Linked DNA regions of Homo sapiens: regions 2, 3 and 4 are each linked to region 1. Evidence: promoter capture Hi-C in 16 types of primary human blood cells and fetal thymus (Javierre and others, 2016). All regions are on one chromosome and are shown on one strand. Each heading gives the region's core, a stretch centred on a gene start or on the middle of the fragment in contact. The rest is flanking DNA. Distances are from core to core; before and after follow the strand shown.

The links. Contacts are between HindIII fragments. The CHiCAGO score rates a contact against its expected background, and 5 or more counts as called.
Region 2: the fragment with the promoter of DIAPH1 here is called in contact with the fragment with the promoter of RBM27 in region 1 in 1 of 17 cell types (naive CD8 T cells); the score reaches 5.0 in naive CD8 T cells.
Region 3: the fragment with the promoter of HDAC3 here is called in contact with the fragment with the promoter of RBM27 in region 1 in 1 of 17 cell types (neutrophils); the score reaches 5.1 in neutrophils.
Region 4: the fragment with the promoter of CSNK1A1 here is called in contact with the fragment with the promoter of RBM27 in region 1 in 1 of 17 cell types (fetal thymus); the score reaches 7.2 in fetal thymus.

What each region holds. Positions count from the first base shown.
Region 1 is chr5:146,202,132-146,205,240 of GRCh38, reverse strand. RBM27 (RNA binding motif protein 27) reads right to left here and starts at 1,636. Exons shown (of 21, transcript NM_018989.2): 1 at 1,417-1,636. The coding sequence starts at 1,475. RBM27-POU4F3 (RBM27-POU4F3 readthrough) reads right to left here and starts at 1,636. Exons shown (of 20, transcript NM_001414499.1): 1 at 1,417-1,636. The coding sequence starts at 1,475. RefSeq lists enhancers at 1,421-1,580, 2,051-2,200. The HindIII fragment of the contact is 5,706 bases long and covers 1-3,109 here.
Region 2 is chr5:141,617,593-141,620,701 of GRCh38, reverse strand. It overlaps DIAPH1 (diaphanous related formin 1), which reads left to right and starts at 1,702. Exons shown (of 28, transcript NM_005219.5): 1 at 1,702-1,904. The coding sequence starts at 1,788. RefSeq lists silencers at 1,348-2,007, 2,068-2,117, 1,928-2,124. The HindIII fragment of the contact is 3,913 bases long and covers 1-2,833 here.
Region 3 is chr5:141,635,193-141,638,301 of GRCh38, reverse strand. It overlaps HDAC3 (histone deacetylase 3), which reads left to right and starts at 1,453. Exons shown (of 15, transcript NM_003883.4): 1 at 1,453-1,566; 2 at 1,672-1,754. The coding sequence starts at 1,512. RELL2 (RELT like 2) reads right to left here and starts at 1,305. Exons shown (of 7, transcript NM_173828.5): 1 at 1-1,305. The coding sequence starts at 76. RefSeq lists enhancers at 1-16, 717-766 and silencers at 1,277-1,566, 1,627-1,676, 1,686-1,980. The HindIII fragment of the contact is 11,354 bases long and covers 1-3,109 here.
Region 4 is chr5:149,549,907-149,553,015 of GRCh38, reverse strand. CSNK1A1 (casein kinase 1 alpha 1) reads left to right here and starts at 1,577. Exons shown (of 10, transcript NM_001892.6): 1 at 1,577-2,174; 2 at 2,835-2,941. The coding sequence starts at 2,052. It also overlaps a transcript of ARHGEF37 not described here. RefSeq lists enhancers at 1,000-1,069, 627-1,420, 1,120-1,789, 1,820-1,879, 2,010-2,069 and 2 more. The HindIII fragment of the contact is 4,606 bases long and covers 1,261-3,109 here.

The DNA.
Region 1 (3,109 bases), core at 387-2,886:
TAAGCACTCCACAACTCTACCCTTTAAAATGGTTATCAAACATGGCCGGGTCCAGTGGCGCACGCCTGTAATCCCAGCACTTTGGGAGGCCAAGGCGAGCGGATCACCTGAAGTCAGGAGTTCGAGACCAGCCTCGCCAACAAGGCGAAACCCCATCTCTACTAAAAATACAAAAATTAGCTGGGCGTGGTGGCGCGCGCCGGTAGTTCCAGCTACTCGGGAGGCTGAGGCAGGAGAATCGCTTGAACCCGGGAGGCGGAGGTTGCAGTGAGCCGAAATCCAGCCACTGCACTCCAGCCTGGGAGACACAGCGAGACATTGTTTCAAAAAAAAAAGGTTATAAAACAAAATGTTGATACATCTGTTACCTCTTTCAAGCCTCCCAATAACATTTCTACTAACACCACCCAAAATATTTTTAAAAGACAGGTCTCTCATTCTTTTCGGTCCCTCATACTACACCCCAATTATCTTCAGGTGTCCTCTCAATCTTACAAAAACATTTACAAAACTGTCCTCTCAATGGCACAAGAATACTTACAAATCTCTTATTCTTTCTACCGCTCCTTTTATTCCTCCAACACCACCTGTATCTAAAAATCCCTACATACTGTTAGGTATACTCCTCCACCAATTAATGCTGCATACCAGTGTAGCCCTTTCAACCTTCAACTAAACTTACAGAAACCTCTTTTTTCCAACCTCTATGTATCTAAAAGTCATCAGTTCCCCTAGCACTATCAAGCCCTCAATAATACTTTAAAATCCCTTAATATCCTTGCTATCACACTTATCACCTCCCCAATAATTTCTAAAACCCTTCAATGCCCACACATCCTTTTCATCTACTCCATAGTATTTTTCAAATCCTTCAATATTCTTGATCCCTCAGAACTTACCAATAATCGCTATACAGTTTCAATGTCCCTGCTATCCGCTTCTGCCCTCATATTTCGAAAATGCCCTCGATATTTTGCTTCTAGACCTTTCAGTCCCGGAATAATAATGTTTATCAAACCCTTGATATTCTGCTATTCCCTTCGACATCTCAATATTCACATTTTAAAAATCCCTCAAGAGCCCCGTTACCTCTCTCTCAGTTCTCAAACAGCAATGTTTTAAATTCCCTCACGGCCCCTGCTACCCCTTCCAGCACCCCGATATTTGCGTTTGAAAAGCCTTCGCTGTCCTTGCCTGCCCCCCCAGTCCCCATATTCACGGCGCCTCTCCGTCCCCAGCGCTCCTCTCCCACCCTCACCCCCACCACAATGGTGATAGTACTACAGGGAAGGCGTCGCCGGGACCTCCCGGCCGCGGCCCCTCAGCGCCGCCCCCCACGCCACCTCCCCTCCCCCACGCCCCCGCGAGCCCCCAACGCCCACGTTCGCCGGCCCCGGCCCAGCCCGGCTCACTCACATCGGCTCCAGTAACTTGGCCAGCCAGGACTTGAGGGCATCCACATCCTCTATGAGCATGGTGCAGGGAAGGCGGGCTCGGCCGCCGCTCTTCTTCAGGCCTGCCGTGGGTCTCCACTACGCCGCCCCCTCACGTTCCCTTCACAGCTCCCGGTGCCCCAGCCCACCGGGCATCTTAGGAGACTTCAACCTACTCCCCCGGCCGGGGCCTAACAGGAACTAACCCAAGAGCCCTCACTCAACCTAGCCCGAAGGCTGAGGTGGGCGGGAGACAGTGCCGAGTGGCAGGCCTGAGAACCAGTAAGAGAGAGGGGGCCCTGAGGGCAAGACCAATGAAAAGGCTCGCTCGCCCCGCCGGCAGGCGGTACCCAGTCAGGGAGGAGAGATATAGCAAGGTAGGTGGAGAGCTTAAGTGAACTCCTGGTGCAAGATGGTATCTTGGAAAAGGTGCTTTGCCTCTTAAAGGGGCAGCGGCGCCTTTTTTTGACCACGCCGCCGCCCGCCGCGGAATACCGGTGTCTGCTGCTGGGAGTGCCTGGGGGAACCCGGCGAGCCCCTCAGCCTGGTTCCTTCCTCTCGTTTTTCTTGGAAACACACACTCGTGTCCCGAAATGACTCAGCTGTAGTAAATCTGCAACACAACGTGCAATACGTTCACGTTCGACACATTGCACAGAATGCAAAATTTTACTTTTTTTCTTTACACACTCATGTTGATTGGCACTCACGTTTGTATTTTCTGCTGCTCTGCTTTAATTACGCAGAATGTTTCTGACAACCATGCCTTGGAATCCAGTAATCGTCATTTTTAAAACGTGGCGCACGGATGTAAAAGGCTGAGGCCATTTCAATTTTGCTAGTACTATTAATAAATGTTGCTTTATTTAGGAAGAAAAATGACTCCAATAGTTTGTTTTTAATTATCTTTTCATTGTATATCTAAAATTCAGTGGTTGGGGGACGGGAAGGGAGAATTTTAATCAGCAAAGAAGGATTACAAAAAAATTTTTAAGACAAATTAGAAACTACTGAAATAGTCAACTTACTTTCTAGTAGGTGAGAAATTCTTTCTGGAGTTTTGAAATCACTGATTTAGCACTGATGTTAAAATGTTTACCCAATAACATATACTGAGTCCCTGCAATTGCCAGCACTGAGTAAGGCACTAGGAGTCCAATGCTGAGCAAAACAGAGCTTCTCCTCTTAAGATGATGAACAGTTTATGGGGTTATGCATTGTAATAACATTTTGAAAAATACCTAATGAGCACGCACCTCATATAAAAGAAATGGATCAACCTCAAATAAACAGACATCCTATATATACATAGAACAGGTATAGGCAAACTTCTGCAAAGGATCAGATACTAAATATTTTGGTTTTGTGAGCCTTGAGGTATCTATGGCAACTACTCGTCATACAATGTCTTGGCTTAAAATTAACCAGGGACAATATGTAAATGGAATGATTGTGGCTGTATTACAAACATTTATTAAAATTATATAAAATTTTAAATTTATATAATTTTCACATACCATGAAATATTATCTTTTCATTTTTTTCTCCATTTAAAAATGTAGGCCAGGCTGGGCGCGGTGCCTCACACCTGTAATCCCAGCATTTTGGGAGGCCAAGGCGGGTGGATCACCTGAGGTCAGGAGTTCCAGACCAGCCTGACCAACATGGTGAAACCA
Region 2 (3,109 bases), core at 453-2,952, 4.6 Mb after region 1:
GATTTTGGTTAAGAGTTAGACAAACCTGGGCAGATTTGAGAGGAGTAGAAGATGACTTCAGGTTTTTGAATCTGGGTGTTTAGAGTAGTGATGCTAGTTGGTGAAGATACACTGAGATAAAACATGTTAAGTGCTTAGCACAGTGCCTGACAGAAGAAGTTGCCCATTATCTGTCTATGTGAAGAACAATGCTAAATACTGTAGTAGCCACAAACATGAACCTTTCTCTAGAAGAGTTTACATTCCAGTCAGTAGTATGATAAATATTGTAGCAGATACAGACTGATACAAGAAAGAGGACTGATAGATGGGTCACTTCCTCCCCTCCATTCTCTGATTCTGTCTGTTCTCAACACTAGCTTAGAAAGTAGCTTTTGGACTTTTTAGACAAAATGTCTGGAAAGCTCAGCACTAAGTCAAGTTTGAAGTATGGGATGGACAGCTCTATGTAACATTCTATCCGATCACCATCAGAAGGTCTGGACCACAAGAGAGATGAATGCCAAATTTAGGAGCCAGCCAGCTTGGCAGAGTCCCTGGTATATCTCAGGCCCTTGACTAGGTACTGGGGCTCTAGAGTAAGTAAGTCACTGACTCTGCCCTTCAGGAACTTATGCTTGAAATCTTGCTAGCTGTGGTCAAGAATATTCAGTCCATATTGTGAAGGCCGACTGGTAGCCACGTAACTGTCACACAAGGGACAGATGTAGCTGGGAGAATGGATGAAATTGCTTAGGGAGAAAGTCATGCTAGAAGAGCAAAGAATATACTCTTGGAGAATACTCATTCTTTTCACTCATGTTTGGTTTATGTCAGTGGGGAATCCTGGTTAAACATAGGGTTTGGCAGCAAATCAGACTAAGCTGGGTTTAAATTTTATATCAATTATGCGTTCTTGGGCAAGTCACTTCAACTCTCAAAAGTCCAAATTTACTATTTATAAAATGGTGAGGCTAGCAGAATCTATCACATGGGACTGTGGGGACTTAGAAAAATACATGTAGAGTGTTTGCCTAGTGCCTAGCAGAGAGCAAAGGGCATGGTTAAGTGGTAACTGTTATTGCTGTTTAGGCACATGTTGGCAATAATTAGTTTGTCCTGATTAGAAACAATTAGATGGTACCTAACCTGGAATTCGAACTAGGAAATTAAACTCCAGAGCGAGTCTGGTTTAGTCTAGTGCTTGCCCTGGACCGAGCTCTGTTCTTGCTACCTTGCTTTCAAAACATGGTGGCTATCACTATAATTTTTTTCATGTGTTCCATGGGTATTGCACACATTGAAAACTGCATTCTCTTGGAAAACCTGTCACTAATTTTCTGCCAGGATAATGGTCTCACGCGATTTTTGGTCTGGGATGTGAGAGGGTCCAGGCTGTCAGGCTGTACAGCCACGTGGGCGCTGCGTGGGAGCCAGAGGCCTGCGCTGCTCCAACCGCCAGGGGGCGGTGCTCTCCGCCGCGGCCGCGGAGAGCTGCACCGCCCACTCACCACCCCCCCCCACGTGGGTCCGAATGGTTAGGTCCGCTGGGCAGGTAGCGCGCTTCCGCGGCTTCCCTCCGCCCCTCTCCCTTCCCCCATTGGTAGGGGCTGCGGGTCCGGGCGGAAGTGGGGCAGGCGGGCGGGAGCGAGGCGTCGTCGTTGTATATTCATGAGGCGCGCGCAGCCCGGCATGCTAATGAGGCGGGGCGCGGCGGCTGGCTAAAGAGCGACTGGGCGGCGGCGGGCGCGGAGCTGCCAGGCGGGAGCGGCGTAGGCGCGGGGTCGCCGGCCAGCGTGAACCGGGACATGGAGCCGCCCGGCGGGAGCCTGGGGCCCGGCCGCGGGACCCGGGACAAGAAGAAGGGCCGGAGCCCAGATGAGCTGCCCTCGGCGGGCGGCGACGGCGGCAAATCTAAGAAATTTGTGAGTGTCCCTCCCATCCCGCTCCTGCCTGGCCCCGTAACCGCCCTCTGGACCCCTGCAGCCGGCCCCTGGGGCGCCTGCCCGGCTTTGGGGAGCCGCCCCCGCGCCTTCCTTCCTCGTTTCGCTCGGTCCGCAGCTCTGCAGCCCGACATCCTCTCCCTTCGGGACCTCGGGAAGCCCCGGAATCCCACCCGGCTCTTGCCCCGGCCACCTCGGGGCTTCCCTCGTTCCCCAGCCCTTACATTCTGCCCTCCCGCCCGCATATCCCCGGCCGGCTCTCAGCCCCGTCTCTCCCCTCTCAGCCTCACTTCCTTTCTTCTTCCTCCAGTACCCGAACACGCCTCCTCTTTTTTGGTCCCCTCTTCTGGGTCCATTTTCTCTTCTTAACCTTACACCTTTTTTGGTATTCTCGTATTTCCTTCTCCTAAAGGTCACTTCCTTCTCCATGATTCATCCTTTTTACCTGCTAACTTTCCTCCCGCCCAGTCCCCCGTGGGCCCTCCGCCCGGTGTCACTTGATAATCCTTCCCCTGAGGAATGTTACCTGACTTGAGCCCTACCCCCAACTCCTTCTTTGGACGTTTGTCCTTGCGATTACAGGAATGGGCTCCTGCCCAGGTCCTATGGTCACTGGGGCATGACGTTTATTTGTTTACCAGTATTCCTCTCTCCAGAGAACCTCTCTCTTTGCCCTGTTGCTTATCACTTTTCAGAGGATTAGAACTCTCATGATTGTGCCCTTCTTGACCTAGGATGGTGATAAACCTCTCCTGTGGGAAGAAAGTTGGACTGCGAGTTCAAGAAGTTTGTAATTGAATTGTTTTTTATACATTTCCCATGATAACCGTCTCCTCTACTCCTTTTCTACTGCCTCTTGTGCCCCAAGGCGACTATCGGCTTCCCTTTGCGTGCCTGTAGAAGAGTAAGCTTTCCTCAAGTGCCAGTTACTTTCAATCCGAGTGAAGGAATAGTGATATACATGTAACCCTATCATATTTCATTACCTTTTGCCCACACCAACGCCTCTCTCCAGGGAGCCGTTTGGTTGCTTTTTTGCTATAAAAGCTTTGTAAGATACGGGGCACTGTCCAGGAGAGGAAAAGTCTTGGATATTGATGATCATTATAATAGCTAGTTATAACTGTAGCTCTTTTGTCTTCTCTTCCAGGTATTTATGCCCTTACACTAGTGTATCTTTCTACTAA
Region 3 (3,109 bases), core at 204-2,703, 4.6 Mb after region 1:
AGAAGACCAGCACAAGCAGGAAGAGCATATATAGCCCATGTTGGGGCGGTTCCAGGTCAGGCTGTGGTTCCGACATGAGGCCCTGGGGGGCGAGCGCGGGCCAGGGCGCCTCCTGGGTTTAGGGGGCTGCAGCTGGGAATGGGGGAGGGGTAGGAATGCCGTCCTCAGGATCTGAAACAAGCACGTCTAAGACGTCCGGCTGAGGTCCGGCCCCACCCCCTACCCAACCAGGGAGCTGTCCGGGCCAGGAGTGCTGTTTCGCCTTTCGGCAAGAGGTCAGCGGCAACGCAAGCTCTCTACCACGACCCTGGTCCCGCTTCCCCGACGCCCCGAGCGTTCCCCTTTCCAGCTTGTTCGCGCTTCTGTCCCTCCCAAGGACACTGCAGCACGAGATGGGACGGCATTCTTAGGCGGCGGGAGCAGAAATCCTGCCTGAGTCAGCGCCCGCACCTCCTCCACGCCGGCCTGAGCCAGGCCTCTGCAGCCCCTTCCTCTCAGTACTCCCGCACCCCTCTCCCTTTTTGGTTTCTCCCACCCTGACCACCTGGCCGACCCGGTACCGGTGATTTGGTTCTGGTTCCGGCTTCTGCTGGGGTTCCGGCTCCAGGGGCGTCCTAGTGCGGCTCAGGGCCCCCGACGCCCTTCCGGCGCTCATCCCTTGATTCCTCCCCTCCCCCTTCGCCGCCTCACCGGCCCCGGGCTGTGGCTGCGGATACCCGCGCCGTGGCAGGCGGGGGGAGGGAAGAACAGAGAAGGATGCGGGCTGGCTGAGAGCGGTGGCAGGCTCCGGGCAACTCCGGCCCTGGGTCAGGGAGATCGCCTCCGCAGCCGCCCTGGCTTCCCAAATGCCTTCACCCGTCGCGGGCCCAGGACCAGGGGGCGGAGCGCAGGTGTGCGGGGCGGAGAGCGTGAGCTCTGCGCGCGCGTGACTGCGCCGGGCCCCCCCGGGGCAATGTGCGGCGCCGAGTCTGGGTCCGGGTAGGGGACAGGCGGTCCGGCGTGGGTGTTGTCCACTGGTCTATCCGGTACGCCTGGCGCAGCTCCTGCCCTCAGATGCCCCGACCGAGCGGAGAGTCAGGAATCTTCTCCGAGGGCTGGGGGAAGCCGGCTTTCCGCACCTTTGAGGGACGGAGTGGCGGGATCTTCGGAGCTTCCTAGAGAAGTGACCACGGCCTGCGCCCGGTTTGGGGCAAGCGGCTGGATGGGATGGCTCGGCTTCCCGAGGATCTGACCCCCGGCCGGAGACAAATGGCCCTCGCATCCTAGGAGCTATGCTGCCAGTTCCCTGCCCAACCCGGGACGCTCAAAGCCCCAGATACCGGGAGAGCTGAGCCGGGCGAGGGGCGGAGCTCCCCTGGGGGCGTGGCCTGGGTGTGGATGGAGGCGGGGCCGCAACGCCCAGTTCCGCAGAGGCCGGCTACGTGCTTGCGCAGCACGCACGGCCGGGGAGGGGCTGGCGGCGGCCGCGGGCGGCGGGCGGCGGAGGTGCGGGGCCTGCTCCCGCCGGCACCATGGCCAAGACCGTGGCCTATTTCTACGACCCCGACGTGGGCAACTTCCACTACGGTGAGGAAACAGGGATATGCATGAGGGGTTGGGACACGGAGGTTTTGAGGCGGGGTTGCAACTCCAGGGGTGAGAGCTGACGAACTCTCTTCTCCCCACCCCCAGGAGCTGGACACCCTATGAAGCCCCATCGCCTGGCATTGACCCATAGCCTGGTCCTGCATTACGGTCTCTATAAGAAGATGATCGTGAGTTCCGCCGCCTCGGCCGGGGGTTGGGGGGTGGGGCGAGCTGTGGCCGTAGGGATAGGTGGGCTGGACTGAGTGCATGAAGTGCGACCCGCCCCTAGAGTATCGGGGAGCTGGATAGAAGTCACCAGGAGTACCTTGAAAGTGCAGGGTGTTGGGGGTGGCGTCCTCTGCTTAATGGAAAGTACTTTCTCACCTCAGGTCGGCCACCCTCTGACTGTAGGCACACTAGCCCTTGGCCTAGGGTTAGCGTGATGTGGGGCTGGTTTGAAGACAGAAGGTGTGTTCCTCCTCTGCATTTTAGAGTGTGGATAGGGCCTTGGCCTCAGGAATTAGGGTTAGGGGAGCGGATATCACTGTATCAGGGTGTGAGGTTTACCCTCAGTTCCCACTCCTCTTTTACCACCTTTCTTTACCTCCAAGGAGCTAGGGCTCCAGGGTGGAACGATGCTGCCGTCTTTGTAAATGTGTATGTGCGTGTGGAACAGAGGCGATATTTTAGATATTCCTTTTTCAGCCTGGAATACCTCTACATGGTTCTGCTTAATCGCTATCCAGTTTTTCATCTACCAGACATACACATGCTGTCTTCCCAGCTTGGAATTTATGGCTGTGATATGGGATAGTAACAGTTAAGCCACGCCAGGCGTGGTGGCCCATGCCTGTAATCCCAGCACTTTGGGAGGTTGAAATGGGGGGGATCGCTTGAGGCCAGGAGTTGGAGACCAGCTTGGGCCACAGTGGGACCCACATCTACAAAAAATAAAAATAAAAAAAGTAGCCATGTGCGGTGGGTGTGCCTGTAGTCCCAACTACTTGGGAGGCCGAGGCGAGAGGATGGCTTGGGCCCAGGAGTTTAAAGTTACAGTGATCTATGATCAGCAGCCTGAGTTGACAGGGAGGACCTTGTCTCAAAAGAAAAAATAAGACAAAACAGCTAAACCCAGGCTTTATGTGTTGCTAGGGAAACTAGTGAACAATATGAATGAATGTTCATTGCTTGTGCCAAGGCACAGACAAATGGACTGGTCATAGAAAAGACTGAGGTGATGTTAGTGCAGGAATCTATATCCCTTGAGATTGTTTGCCTGTATGTACCTGTGTGCATTTTCTGGGAGAAGAAAAGCTCTTTCTTGTGCAGTTTTCAAAGAGGTGTGACACATCCCCCTGACCTTCCAAAGATAATAAATCTTTGATTTTAATTAGAAAGTTGACATATATCCCATATATTTGACTCCAGAAAGAAGAATCCAGAGGAAAGAGGACAGAATCAGAGCTTGGGGGAGGAGATGAGCATGGAGAGAACTGGGAATAGGAGATTCCAAGGAACAGGGCAGGTGGATCAGGGCTCAAAG
Region 4 (3,109 bases), core at 328-2,827, 3.3 Mb before region 1:
GGGCACCCTGAGTGTTGGTTGGGCTTTAAAAACTTCATGCTAAACTTCAGGGGAAGTCTCCTCCCCTCTCTCTTCAGTTGTCTTCCGAGATGAACCCTATTACTAATTACTTGACCACCTTTCAAAGTTGCAGTTAAAATTCTTCACATTTTTCTCCCATTTCTATTTAATTAATTATTTTTTTTTTGAGACAGGGTCTCTCTGTTGCCCAGGCTGGAGTACAGTGGCGTGATCTAGTCTCACCGCAACCTCCGCCTCCCGGGTTCAAGCGATTCTCAGACTCCCGAATAGCTGGGGTTACAAGTGTGCGCCATCACACCCGGCTAATTTTTGTATTTTTAGTAGATACGGGGTTTCATCATGTTGGCCAGGCTGGTCTCGAACAACTGACCTCAAGTGATCTGCCCGCCCCGGCCTCCCGAAGTGCTGGGATTACAGGCGTGAGCCACTGCGCCCGCCCCCCATTTCTATTTTAATTAAATTTTATTTAGGATAGGCTTAGCTTAAATTTTTACGACTGAGGTCTGACTTAAGATGATAGCATCAACCATGGAGTTTTCTTTCGTGAACATTATTATTACTAAGCCCAATTTTCCCAGGTCAAATTTTGTAAAACAAAACGTGGTCAAAATTTGATTCTCTGATCGATTTTTTGTAAAAAAGAAAAAAATTACCGTGTAGTTTTAAATGTTGTCAATTAAATTTTGTAATAGTTACCTCTACTCTGTTCAGGTTAATACTGAGGTTTTCAACAAGACCAACATACGATTCTTTTTTTTTTTTTTTTTTTTTTTTTTGGTGGGGTTGAGGGGACATAACAGTTTTTTCACTCTTGTTAAATTAATTTTCTGTTGATTCCATCTATCCTTAATCTTCATTATGAGCAACATACCAGGTTTTCTTCTGAAGATCATATGTGGTAGTGAGGCAATAATGCAAAGACATAGGATGGCAGGGGGATTCCGGCTTCTTTCTTTCTTCCCCTCCTGTGGAAAGAGGGTCTATAACACTCCGTAGTAGATAGGACAATTCTAATTATGAAGGGTAATTAGCTAGGCTCTGCTACAACCGAGAGCCCTGAGAGATTCCTCGACGCTGGCTGCTTTTCTCTTCCTCTCCACCAGAGGCGACAGCCTCTTTCCAAACAGAAACTGGGTTGGAATAGGCCGGTCCGGGGGAACGGCCAGAAGAAAGATCAAAGGTTAAAAACCGCCTCAAAGAGCACAGGTCAATACCCAACTCCTAAGGAGGCCTTAAGCTTTCATCTGCCACGAAACATGAAGGTGACTCCTCCCAATATCAAGGCCGGGGGGCCACTCAGCCTTCCAGAGACCCGGCGGGTCCGAGGCGAGTAACAGGTAACACCTGCTGAGCCGCCGCCGACCGGAAGTGGAAGAGAGCCCGGGACGGGGGTGAGGACAGGCCGCGGCACGCCTGCGCAGTCAGCAGGAGTTGCAGCGCTCATGCGCAGCTGGGCGGTGACAGGGTGACGCTCGGAGCGTGGGCCGCGACTCTCACGGATCCGGTTCCGCCCTCTCGCTGCCGATCCTTCGGAGCGAGCGCCCGAGATCCCTTTCCCAGAGTGCTCTGCGCCGTGAAGAAGCGGCTCCCGGGGACTGGGGGCATTTTGTGTTGGCTGGAGCTGGAGTAACAAGATGGCGTCGTCCGCGGAGTGACAGGGGTCCCTCTGGGCCGGAGCCGGCGGCAGTGGTGGCAGCGGTATCGCCGCCCTAGCTCACCGCGCCCCTTTTCCAGCCCGCGACGTCGCCGCGCAAGCGAGGCAGCGGCGGCCGCCGAGAAACAAGTGGCCCAGCCTGGTAACCGCCGAGAAGCCCTTCACAAACTGCGGCCTGGCAAAAAGAAACCTGACTGAGCGGCGGTGATCAGGTTCCCCTCTGCTGATTCTGGGCCCCGAACCCCGGTAAAGGCCTCCGTGTTCCGTTTCCTGCCGCCCTCCTCCGTAGCCTTGCCTAGTGTAGGAGCCCCGAGGCCTCCGTCCTCTTCCCAGAGGTGTCGGGGCTTGGCCCCAGCCTCCATCTTCGTCTCTCAGGATGGCGAGTAGCAGCGGCTCCAAGGCTGAATTCATTGTCGGAGGGAAATATAAACTGGTACGGAAGATCGGGTCTGGCTCCTTCGGGGACATCTATTTGGCGATCAACATCACCAACGGCGAGGTAATCATCTGGGGTGGGGTTCACGATAACGCTGCGCTTTTACTCATTCCCCCCACCACCACCGTGCACCCCCAAAGTGCTCGGGCCTCTCCTCATCGCACGCACTCGCCAGGGAGTCCAGGGAGCTAGTTTTCCTGGCTTACGAACCTCGTCCGCTGTCTCCCTAAAAGGGTCAAGAACCCGATAGAAAGGTTGGGGGAACTAGTTTCCCACCTTGTTAAACACGTCCCATAAATGTCCCTTAGTCGAGCTTTTTTTTTTTTTAACCGTCTTTTAAGGTGGAAACGGCAAAATCCTCTTTCAGTGATTCCCATGTTTTTTTTTTTTTAATTCTTAATTCTACTGGGCCTCTTGTTCCAATTAGAACAGTTTCCGATCGCCTAGTTCCTTAAAAACCTCTCACTACGTTCAGAGGTTGCCTCTTTTTTCTGGATGAATCATTTTCCTGCACTTTAGAGGACGTACGGATTTCGTCACTACCCCCTGAAGAGGCCTTTGAGGCTGGTTGCCTCGTTTTATAATTACCGAGAGCTTTCTCTTTCCAGCTTTTCACTTCTTCTTGTAGTCGCGACTTGGAGTTTTGCTAATGTCTCCCTCCTTTCCTAAGTGACATTGAATCCGTAGGGATGTTGATGCCATCATCCCCTCTTTCCCCTGCAGGAAGTGGCAGTGAAGCTAGAATCTCAGAAGGCCAGGCATCCCCAGTTGCTGTACGAGAGCAAGCTCTATAAGATTCTTCAAGGTGGGGTTGGCATCCCCCACATACGGTAAGAACCCGGTGCATATAGGCGATCCGCTGAGGGAAGCACGGAATGGGGAAGTGGGTAGAGGCAGGTAATGAGACCAGCTGAATCCGGGTCTTGGTGTTTTAGTTACCTGGGTTCCCTATAGCTGGTGGTTTCCTGTAAGTCAGTCATCTCAATTACTGAGTAAAT